2 separate regions of the Homo sapiens genome follow, and region 1 is linked to region 2. Evidence: promoter capture Hi-C in human tissues and cell types (Jung and others, 2019). All regions are on one chromosome and are shown on one strand. Each heading gives the region's core, a stretch centred on a gene start or on the middle of the fragment in contact. The rest is flanking DNA. Distances are from core to core; before and after follow the strand shown. Region 1 has its middle 78 kb from the start of LINC01395. Region 2 holds the start of KCNJ5 (potassium inwardly rectifying channel subfamily J member 5).

The links. Contacts are between HindIII fragments. The study calls those that stand out against the background at their distance.
Region 1: a fragment that was not itself captured here is called in contact with the fragment with the promoter of KCNJ5 in region 2 in 1 of the 25 tissues and cell types used here (small bowel).

The regions. Positions count from the first base shown.
Region 1 is chr11:129,692,800-129,698,346 of GRCh38, forward strand. No RefSeq gene overlaps it. Among named protein-coding and RNA genes, the nearest start is that of LINC01395, 78 kb to the left of the region's middle. The HindIII fragment of the contact is 4,836 bases long and covers 658-5,493 here.
Region 2 is chr11:128,888,267-128,893,846 of GRCh38, forward strand. KCNJ5 (potassium inwardly rectifying channel subfamily J member 5) reads left to right here and starts at 3,090. Exons shown (of 3, transcript NM_000890.5): 1 at 3,090-3,455. The HindIII fragment of the contact is 9,287 bases long and covers 1-4,545 here.

The DNA.
Region 1 (5,547 bases), core at 1,826-4,325, 800 kb after region 2:
AGTACCTCCTCACCCACTCCTTCTGGAGATGGCACTGGTGGCTCAGTTGCATATTCAAGCAACTATTGTCAGGCCAGGATTTGTGATGTATCCCAGGATCCAATTAAAATTGTTGTTGTTGCTGTTGTTGTTTTGGTCTTTGCACGGACAATATAGCAAGTCTGGTAAGTTTCTCTGATCGGCAGCAAGCAGCCTCGGGGAGAGAGCTACAATTATTGAGCACTGCGCCTTGGTTTTTACGTACATCACCCCTCACCATGCTCCCAGCAGTCCTGCAGTGAAGATGTTGTACCCGTTTTGAATTTTAGGAAACTGACGCGCAGAAAATGCAAGGGACTTGCCTGGAGTCACACGGCTAGAGGGGATAAGGCCAAAGATTCAACTCCATGCTCTTTCTAACACACCAGGCTCCCAATAAGCACTTATTACAAGAATGAATGATCCAAGGCACAAGGACTGAAGCAGAGAATGGGTATGTTTTAAGGGAGAAGAGGGATAAAAGAAAGGTCACGGCCAGGTGCAGTGGCTCACGCCTGTAATCCCAGCACTTTGGGAGGCCGAGGCAGGTAGATCACAAGGTCAGGTGATCGAGACCATCCTGGCCAACATGGTGAAACCCCGTCTCTACTAAAAGTACAAAACAAAAATTAGCTGGGCGTGGGGGCGCATGCCTGTAGCCCCAGCTACTCAGGAGGCTGAGGCAGGAGAATCTCTTGAACCCAGGAGGCGGAGGTTGCAGTGAGACGAGATCACGCCACTGCACTACACAGCCTGGCAACAGAGCGAGACTCCACTGAAAGAAAGAGAGAAAGAAAGAAAGAGAAAGAAAGAGGGAAGGGAAGGGGAAGAGGGAAGGGAAGGGGGAGGGGAAAGGGAAGGGAAGGGGAAGGAAAGGGGAAGGGGAAGGGGAAGAGGAAGGGGAAGGGGAAGGGAAGAGAAAGAAAGTTCACAGTGTAAGGCCAGGCGCGGTGGCTCACGCCTGTAATCCCAGCACTTTCGGAGGCCAAGGCAGGTGGATCACGAGGTCAGGAGATCGAGACCATCCTGGCTAACACGGTGAAATCCCGTCTCCACTAAAAATATAAAAAAATTAGCCGGGTGTGGTGGGGGGCGCCTGTAGTCCCAGCTTCTCGAGAGGCTGAGGCAGGAGAATGGCGTGAACCCGGGAGGCGGAGCTTGCAGTGAGCCGAGGTTGCGCCACTGCACTCCAGCCTGGGCAACAGAGCAAGACTCCGTCTCCAAAAAAAAAAAAAAAAAAAAAAAAAACTTCACAGCATGGAGAGCAGGCCCACTTGGGACACAGAATGGGCATGTGTCAAGGGCCCTGGGAGGAGGTGCTGGAAAGGGACAGTGGAGAAAAGGGGGGGACAGCCGATCAGTCCCCTGGGCCATTCTGCTTGCCTCCTCACTAAGAATAGTAGCATCTCCCCTCGCTCCCACTGCTTTCTGTGGCTCTCAAAATGCTTTCGCATGCATTTTCTCACTACAGCCTCAGAACAATCTTTAGGAGTAGTGTTATCTTCCCCATTTCACAGATGAGAAAGCTGAGACTCAGGGAGGCCACATAACTCGCCCAAGAACACATAGCCAATTAGTGGCAGGTATGGGGCTCCATTTAAGTATATGACCCCGCTCTGGTTCAGTATTCTTATCCCCACCCCAAATAAAGAGAATCACACGACCTTATTGTGATAATAAATAGCAACTGTAGTCAGAGGGAGAGAGGCCCAGGGAGGAACAATAATCTAACTAAGACGCTTGACATTGGAAACTCCTGGAGGGCAGGGCAGAGATCATGCAGGAGATTTAACAGCACCCAGCACAGCTGCCCACGCGGAGGTGCGTCTATGCTGAGCTGCCACAGCAAGGCTGCAGTGCCTGGCCCGGAGCTTGGTCACGCTGACCTCCACGGCAGGAACTGAGAGCAGCATCTACTCCCAATCCTGCATAAGAGGTCATAGAAACACCCTACAGCCCAGGGGGGAGCCAGTCCCGGCCAGGAGGTGGCGTCACAGTTCAGAGAGGTGCCAAGTGAGCAGAAAACAGCTCCTGGTCTCTGTAGCTGAGAGAGACAGAGCTGGACATCCTGGCCCGATGGAGCTCTGGGTGTTGTTCCCACAACAGCAACAGCACAGAGCGCTGAACACACACCCCACAGTTCACTGTCCGTGGCCAGGAGGCCATTCAAAACGTGATTGCTGGTTGTCAACTCCAAGAACTAACAGGAGTGAAAACTCACACACACACACCCCCAAGAATGCAGGCTCTGCCTGGCACGCAGGGAAGTCTGCCCTCGTGCCTGGGGTTCCTTCCTCTGTGGGCATCCCATCTTCAGAGCCTTGGCTCTCCCTTCCCCTGAGGGATTACTCACCACTTCCCTAACACTGCCGGGCTGCCCTGCTTTGCTGCCATGGAGTCCAGTCATCAGGCAGATTCATTCACATCTACGCGCCTGAGTGGTACTGGCCACCACGTAACGGAGTGGACATCAAACAGAGAAGTGGGCAACCTGGAATTGGGTGCCAGTCCTCGAGTCCCTCATCAGCCAAAAGAAAATCATCTCATGAATGCCTACCCTCCAGAAGTGTCACGGGGAGACCATCAGGTGTGTACCAGAAGCACTTCCTACGCTGCAAAGCAGCAAAGAAAGGCAGCCTCTATAGCGGTTTGTAAAGAGTGCCTTGCAGAGAGGACACAGCCTGGCTGATGAGTTTCCAGCAGCAGAGCTTTAGGTATGATTGAATCTTGGAGAGGAAGAGACTTTGGTTCTGTTGAGCCTGCTCCATGTTTCTCAAAGCACACACCACCCACTCTGCCAACAGGTAAAGCTTCGGATGGAACCTGCTGTGTTCTGTCCTCTTCCAGCTGAGCCAGGCCCGCGGGCCCCCTCCAGGAGCTCCGGGCAAGCAGCCCCTCATGGCCCGTGGTGGAACTGCACCCTCAGCACTGGAGAGGGCGGTCGCAGGAGCCTGCGAGGAAGGTGGGGTCTCAGTGCTTTCGCACAGGGCGAGTGGAGCTGGAAATGCAGCCCCCAGTAGTTTCAGTTATTCCATGTATGGCTTTTCTCTCTCACCTTGCACCTTTAGACCCTAATTTCCTGTGAGCAATGTGCTGGGAAAACTGGCAGCAGCTCTCTGGCAACCCTGGGGGAAAGAAGCGAAGTGGGGTAGAAGCGGAAGCCAGGGGCAGAGGCTGGGTCGGTCCAGCCAGCCCGCGAGGGCTCCCACGCAGCAGAGGTTCCACTGAGAGGAAGCCGGGGCTGGCCCGGCCGGGAGACTCCCTCCACGCCCCGTGTGTGGAGTGCCCGGGCACCCTATACCCTCAAGGTGGCCTTGACCTCTGGAGACAGGTGTTGGCTCCTTGAGTCACCAACAGCAGGGACCAGACCGGGAGGTGTTTCTGGGCGGGAAGGGCTGGGCCAGGCCAGGCTCCAGCAGGCCCCCTTGTGGTCAGAGGGGTTGCCTGCAGGATGATCGGCTTGGGAACCAAGGCAGCCACTCCCCACATGGGAGTTGGACCCAGGCTTGAAGGACACATTGTCACATCGATTCACTCTCCTGGGAGGCCTCCTTGTCACACAAGATGTCCTGGCCCCGGTGTTTTTCTTCACCATATTTCTCCCAACTGTAATTGTGTAGTTCCTGGGGCGCTTATCTCTCAACGTCCATCTCTGTGAAAAAAGCCGTGACCCTCCAGGATAAGGTCTGTGCGTGAGACCCCCTGTGTGGAAAGGACGTATGAAAGTCTCAGGACTCTACCTAAGAGCCAGGACCCGGCTCAGGTCGCAGCTCCACTGCACCAATGCCCCTCAGCCCCAGGAGAGACTGAGATCTCTGTAAACAGCAGAGATCAGCAATACAGGCCTTGCCCTGCTGAAACTTCCCTCTGAAAGGAAGGATAATGCTTTCAGCCAAGTGCCTGCCCAGAGCTCTGCAGGTGTGTGGCATGGAGGGCCTGGTGCCCCAGGAGGAGCTCAGCCTCCTGCCCCACCAGAATGGCCCGGGGCTCCCCAGGCTCCCTGCGATCCTGGCTCTCGTCACACCACTCTCCAATCCCACATTTGGTCCTCTGTCATGTCCATGAGGCTGTGGGTGCACCCTGTCATTGTTTGTATCCCCTGGCGATTAACACAGTCCAGGCAGAGAATCAAGTCAACAAGAATGAAGGAGAAAGTGGATCAATGAATGTTGGGCCCTATTTAGGGGCTGAGGACACAGAGATAAATAAAATTCTATCTCTGCCCATGCAGGGTTCAAAGTCAAATTGGGGGACACAAAGTAATAATCACAGTACAGTGAAATTCATGTGTAGAGTGAAAGTCATGTTTAAGGAAGCTTTATTAGGGCACATGACAAAATATCCATGACTATGTTTTAGCTGGTCAGGGAAGGCTCCTTGGAGGAGGTGACTTGGAACAGTCTTAGAGGAAAGTAAAAATTCCAGGCAGGGATGAACAGGGCTCCCAGGCAGGGCACCTCATGTGAAGAGGTACAAGAAGCCAGAGTGGAAATGTGCAGAGCTTACTGTGGGGACCTAAGGGTGGCACGTACACCGTTGGAGCCAGCGCAGGAGCTGGCCTGGGGTGCCAGAAGGGATGGAAGAAAGGTTCCCAAGGGGGTTGGAATATCAAGCAAGGGATAAGTTGTGGGGTGGCGAAAGGATTGTAAGCAGAATGCTTGACTCCCCAGGGGTTTTTTTCCAACAGGATTCTCTGACGGCATTATAGAGAGAGGAGAGGAGGGGAAGAGCCTCAGTCAGGAGGCTCTGTGGGATGCTGTTGCCTTGGTCCAAGCAAGAGACAAGGCAGGCCCTGAGCAGGATGTGGCGGGGGGCTGGAGTGGGAGGACGGATTTCAGAGATATTTAGGAGAAAGAACTTGGGGCGCAAAGGAGAGGTGGGGAGAAAAGAGGGTGAAGGAGAAATAAGGTAAAGGGGAACAGAAGCCAAGCATCAGCTTCTCCTGCCTCTTCTTCTGCAATCCTCACTCCCCAAGCACGGACCAGCCAAGGACAAAGACCCAGCTCACTGGTCAGCCTACACATGTCTCAGCTATTCTTCTCATGAAAGAGGATGTTTTAGAAACCCTGACCTGAGCTGGGTGGTCTTATTTGTAACAATATTGTAGATGGCACATAGAGGCACTTGGATAAATACTGAATGAGGCCGGGTGCAATGGCTTACGCCTGTAATCCCAGCACTTTGGGAGGCTGAGGAGAGCAGATCACTTGAAGCCAGGAGTTCGAGACCAGACTGGCCAACATGGAGAAACCCCATCTCTACCAAAAATACAAAAAAATTAGCCAGGCATGGTCGTGCATGCTTGTAATCCCAGCTACTTGGGAGGCTGAGGCAGGAGAATCACTTGAACCCAGGAGGCGGAGGTTGCAGTGAGCCGAGATTGTGCCACTGTACTCCAGCCTGGAAGACAAGAGTGAAACTCCATCTCAAAAAAAAAATAAATACTGAATGCATGATTTAGCAAGTGAATGAGTGAGTGCATGAATGAATAAATGAATTCTTCACAACTTATCCCAGGACAGACTGACT
Region 2 (5,580 bases), core at 1,840-4,339:
CAACCCTTCCCTTTCTTGTGGTCCCTGAGCACCCTGAGCCTTGCCTGCCCAAGCCTTGATTTCCAGCCCGGCTCCTTGACTCCTCTCCCTCTCATCACATTCAAACCTTAGTCTTCCTTCCCTAAGTCCTTCAGACCTTCCTTCTCTGCGTAGCCTTGCCGTCAGAAGTCAGTCCCAGCTCCTCTTCTCCGAGCTGTGTTAGCATTCCTGTCAATTCCACACCAGCTCCCAATTAACACCTAGGAATTAAAATCCTATGCTGTTAATTTGTCTGCTGACTTCCCCCCACCCGCAGACATGCCACCTTCCCTGTTAGATGTGAGACATTTGAGATCAAAGCCCACCATTATACCTTTTGGTCTCTCTCATAGCACCTATCAAAGTGTCTCAAACATAGTAGGCCTTTATCAACCAAGAGAGTGTGTGGACATAAAAATACATACAGTCAACATTCGCTAACTGAGTAGGTGTAGGTGTAGGGGTGTGTGTGTGTGTTTGTGTGTGTGTCTGTTTAGCATTTTAAAAGCCATGGGAAAGAGAAACACCAAACTCAGGTGGCTGGTTCTCTCCTGAGGGAAGAGGAGGTAATCTCACATGGATTTGGCAGTGTTGGCAATGCCTGGTTTTGTTTTTTTAAACTGGGTAGCAGCTACAGTATTATGTTAAATATTGCAAAATAATATGTCCTTACTCGATAGATATCTGCTGTTTATGGACGTATGAAGAATTCTCCTGACATGAGAAAAAATGCTTAAAATATTTGTTTTAGAAGCTATTTAGTTAGGATTTCAGAGTATAACTCAACAAACTCCTTTAATTAATATTTTATCTAAAAGGAAATATTTATGAGACATTACCAGGCTCCTAATGCAAATATAACTTCTATAAATAGGAGAAAAAAATAATTTTCTGCAAGTCTTATATTCTAAAGAGAACATCTTTAATTGTGAACCCATCTCCCGCTCGATGAAAGAAGGTAAGAGAAGCAGATAAAGAGAACAGAAGAAGTGAGGCTGTACTCTAATTAACAGTGATAATACATACACATTTTCTGTTGCTTTCAAGCACCGCCTCAGCAATTTTCAGACAATGAAAGACATACTTAGCACCTTGTACCGCTCCCTGAGTAGTTCTTTTATTGCATTGCTATCCTCAGATGTTGTCTGTGCTCTTTGAGAGGCTTGGGCCTCTCAAAGCTCCTCCAAGTTGCAACAATTGCTCAGGACTAGAATCCCCAAATTTCGCGTTTTTCAGTTCTCAGGTGAGACCTGGACACAAATTTTTCTGTCTCCCGATCCAAGGTCCCATCACTGAGAAAATCTTTGCAAAACAGTATTTCCCAGAGCACCCTATATTTTGCTTTAAAGTCAGTCCAGGTCCCCTGACCCCCACCCCGTAATGGCAAAAGGAATATCATGGTCTTTATACCTAATCCAAAAGCAACTGCTGCCCCAGGACAGAGCCCCTCCTCAGGGCTCAGCAGATGATTATAGTGTGTGTTATCTGGACCTGAGAACTGCACAGCCAAAGCCTCTCCCAAGAACTAGGCAATTAGGGAATTAAGAACTTTCTCCACAATAGTGTTAAGCCCTGAGGTCAAACAACATATGGTGCAGTGCGTGAGCACCTAGGCAAGCTGAGTCCCCTAAGGGGACACAGAGCTTTCCTGTTAGGGCCTGTTGCAGCCACATTTAACAATCACCCCCTCTACAGAGAGAAGAGGGGCAATCAGGAGGCCCACTCTGGCCGGACCGCTCTGTGCTCTGTCCCAGGGGAGGGTGCCTGGGCAACGGGCTGTGTGTACGCTGGTCTCCGAGGCAAGAGGACCCCCAGGCCACTGTTAGAGACTAAGTTTCCCTGTCACTGTCCTTACAGGAGAGGATGGACTTGGTGCCCTCCAGTATTAGTGACAAGCATTTTTCTCATTGCAACGTAATAAACCAGTTTTCTGGTCGTAGACATCATTCACCTAGCACTTGTGCTAGGTGCTAGGGCACCCCACGTTTGACCAGCTGTGTCTGCCCTGAGAGAGGGGGCTGGCAGGGGGGGTGTTGACCCCAAAAGGCTGGGTAACGGAGAGGGGCCAGAAGGAACACCACCGGGTGAGAAGGGCCACCCCGAACAGACCGGTCCTCAGAGGCACCTGCCGGCCCTCCCCAGACAGCAGCCCTCCCTTTCAGCCTGCCCTGGCAGCTGCCTTTCCTACGGCTTCCACGAATTAAAGAACACACTCTGGTCATCATCTGTCCTCAAGGCAGGTAGGAATCCAAAAGGGAGAGCCGGGAGGTGGCGCGGAGGACGCCGGCTCTGCCCACGCCTGGGCAAGGTTGAGCTCCGTTCCCTCCGGGCTGCTCCCGCCTCCTGTCCGTGCAGGGCGCGTTTCCAGCCATCGCCGCCCAGCCGCCGCCGCACGCCGGGGAGAGATCGTCCGGGGTGAGCAGCGAGCCCGGGGACAGCTAGCCTGGGTCCTGTCCCTGGACCTACTCCCCCTGCAGCTGGCGGATCAGGCCCCCGGACCCTCACTCCACGGCGGGAATCAGAGCCGTCGGGCGGGGGATGCAGCGCCCAGACTGTGGCTCCCCCGCCTTCCCAAAGGAATCCCCCCATCTGCTCCATCCCTCTCGGGAAACGGCGAAATGCTGCCAACCGTCCGCTTAGCGCACCGCGGAGCGACTGAGCAGCCCCGCCGAGGCTCCGAGCCAAGATTTCTGCCCTAATAGTTTCTCCCTTCTTTCTGTCTGCTCCACCGCACCCACTAAATACGCGGCGCTCACACACGGACACGCGTGACACGCGGCGCTCACACACAGGCATGGGACGCTCACACGCGCGCGCGCGGGTCTCCGTCCCTGGCACCCCGCAGCAGGGGTGCAGCCGGGGGCAGGGGGAGCCGGGGGAGGGCGCAGGGGGCCGCGGGGACGCGAGCGGAGGGCTGGATGCCTGCCGGGCTCTCTCTCCGCCTTCCTCTTCCCTCCCAGTCCTGCCGAGCTGACGGCGTCCCGGATCACATGGAGCCCCCGCCCCACCCCAGCCCGCCCCCCGCCGCCAACGCCGGTGGCCCTTCCAGTCGCGTTACTACCCAGAGATTCATTTGTACCAGGGACGGAGGGAGAGAGGAGAGGGAGGAGGGGACACACACACACACACACACACACACACACACACACACACACACAGAGAGAGAGAGAGAGAGAGAGAGAGAGAGAGAGATTGTTCCAGCTGCTCTCGCTAGAGAAAGGGAGTGACCCAAGGGGCCGCGAGTGAAGGGACAGGATGGCTTAGGTACCTCTGCCCACAGGACCCCACAACAGGGAGAGGTTCCAGCTACAGCTCCTCCGTGGGGTCATGGCAGGGGCTGGGGAGTCCCCTCAAAAGCCCTGAGCCCCCCTGCACCGCCGCTAAGGGACACCCCAGAAGTTAGCATCAGTGGGACTCGGAAGCTCCGATCTCAACAAGTAAGTTGTCTTCTTTTCCTCCTCCATTTCTCCCCCAGCTCGCGGGTTCTGGAGGGCAGGATGACACCCTCAGGTGTCCATCACCTGGGCAGCAGGCTTTCACAGGGAACCTGCTAGACTGGGAGCCAGGGGGGATAAGGAAAAGCTTAGGGCAGGTCCAAGTTTAGGAAATTGGAGATCTCCGTGGCTGCAGGCTGCCCTGTGCGTTGGGAGCCCAGCCATAAACACCTTCACTTCTGGCACTAGACCAGGGCTACCTGGGGGTGCCCCAGATCTCCCAGCAGTGGTTTGAGAGGCAACAGTGGCCAGGAGTGGGTGGGGTGTGGAGGACATTTTTCACCTGGTAGGACTCTTCCTTCAAATGGGAGCAGGGAGGGCCAGGATGGGGGGCGGTGCCCCCCTCAGCCTTAGATCCCCAGCCTAATCTTGCTTTCTCTTTTAAGTGTGGCCAAACTGGAAACACGGCCTTGTGATTTCTGCCCCCCTCGCTGCCCAAGTCACTTCCTGCGTACCTCCCTATCTCCTTTTAAAGAGCTTTCAAATGGTTCAGAAAGGCCAGGGGTCAAGCCTGTGAGGACAGAGGATAGGGAACAGAGAAGGCCGGCCTTGTCATTGCTCCCCTTCTCTTCAAGTCAGTGCTTCTCCCTGCAGAGCTGTTGGCCCCCTGGTTTTATCTGTGCCTTCCCTCAAACAGGGCTCTCCAACCCCAGGGGCTGTGGAGGGCCTCAGGTCCGGCCCCCAAAGTTCTAGGGCCTACCCTGAACATCAGGGTGAGCAACACCAGCCCAAAACCTGTTCCAGGAGCCTTTTCAAACACCAGAAGAAGATCAACAGGAACACGCCAAGTATTTTACTCTGTTTCAATCCTTTTAATAAGCTGAGATTATCATCCTCATTCTACAGGTGAAAAATTGAAGCCCAGAGAGGCTGTGCAATTTGCCTCAGGTGCACAGCTCATAAAGGGAGATTCTCTCCTATATCTGACTCCAAAATGTGCCTCGTTTTCATCAAAAGCCATATGGTTTATCGGGCTTTCTGGTTCTCAAAGCACTTTTCCATGTGAGGAAAAGGCTAATATTTATGAAACCAAGGTGCCGAGCTATATACGTTTACATGAGTTCATCTTGACACCAGTCCTGTGGGGCAGAGCTTATTTCTTCTGTTTTATAGATGAGAGTAAGGGTAACAGAATTCCAGGCACTAAGTGGCAGCAGCACTGCTATCTCCAAAACTCTTGTCCTCTGGCTTTAAATCCAGGGTCTTTCCACTAACAAAAGCTAATTCTGAAAGCTGCTCTTGTCTTTCCACATCCCTGCTTTTCCTCAAAGCCAGGTGTAAATTGCATCATCTGGCTGAATGAGGCGCTCAGGCTTCCTGGAATCTGAGGAACGAACAGGGCAGAGCAAATGATGTGGGAGTTAGAGGCCCATGGTTGGACTCTGGCATAAAGAGTTTGGTCAGCTTGGCTGGTATTTTAAACTATCTATGGACCCCACCTGAGATGGCACCATTCTGCCTAGAGGCATAAGGCCTTCAGTGGGAGGCCTGGGGCACAGCGTATGTGCTTCTTGGAAGAGCAGCAGCAGGGCCACCATTGAAAGACAGGAAACAACACATAGAGAAATTGCTGGCTCAGGAGGCTGAGGTAAGGGGATTACTTGAGCCCAGGAGTTCAAGACCAACTGGGGCAACATAGCAAGACCCCATCTCAAAAAAAAAAGAAATAAAAAAGAAAAAGAAAGGATAGAAAATTTGCCTATACATTCCACAAAGCACAAGGATTGTCCCCAGAACAACGTTCTAGACCTACTACCTAGCTCTCCAACAGAAAGGGAACCAGCCACTCAGGCATGGCTGTTTTCTGGCCTCTCCAAAAGCTGCTATAAACTGCCGGCATTACTCACAGGCAGCATTTTTTAAGTAGCCTGCCTGTGCTCTATCCAGTGAGCAGTTCAGCTAAAGGAGGAGCCAAGGGTGAGGGGGGGGGTCAAAGCGAACCTGGGCCACATTCACTCTGCCCAGGGCTGTCCCCAAAGCTTAGCTGTCTTCTCTGGGATGAAGTCAGATCTTAGTGGGGTTCCCCACCATGGCTTCCCTGGAGTCTGCTGGCAAGTCCTGAGCAGTG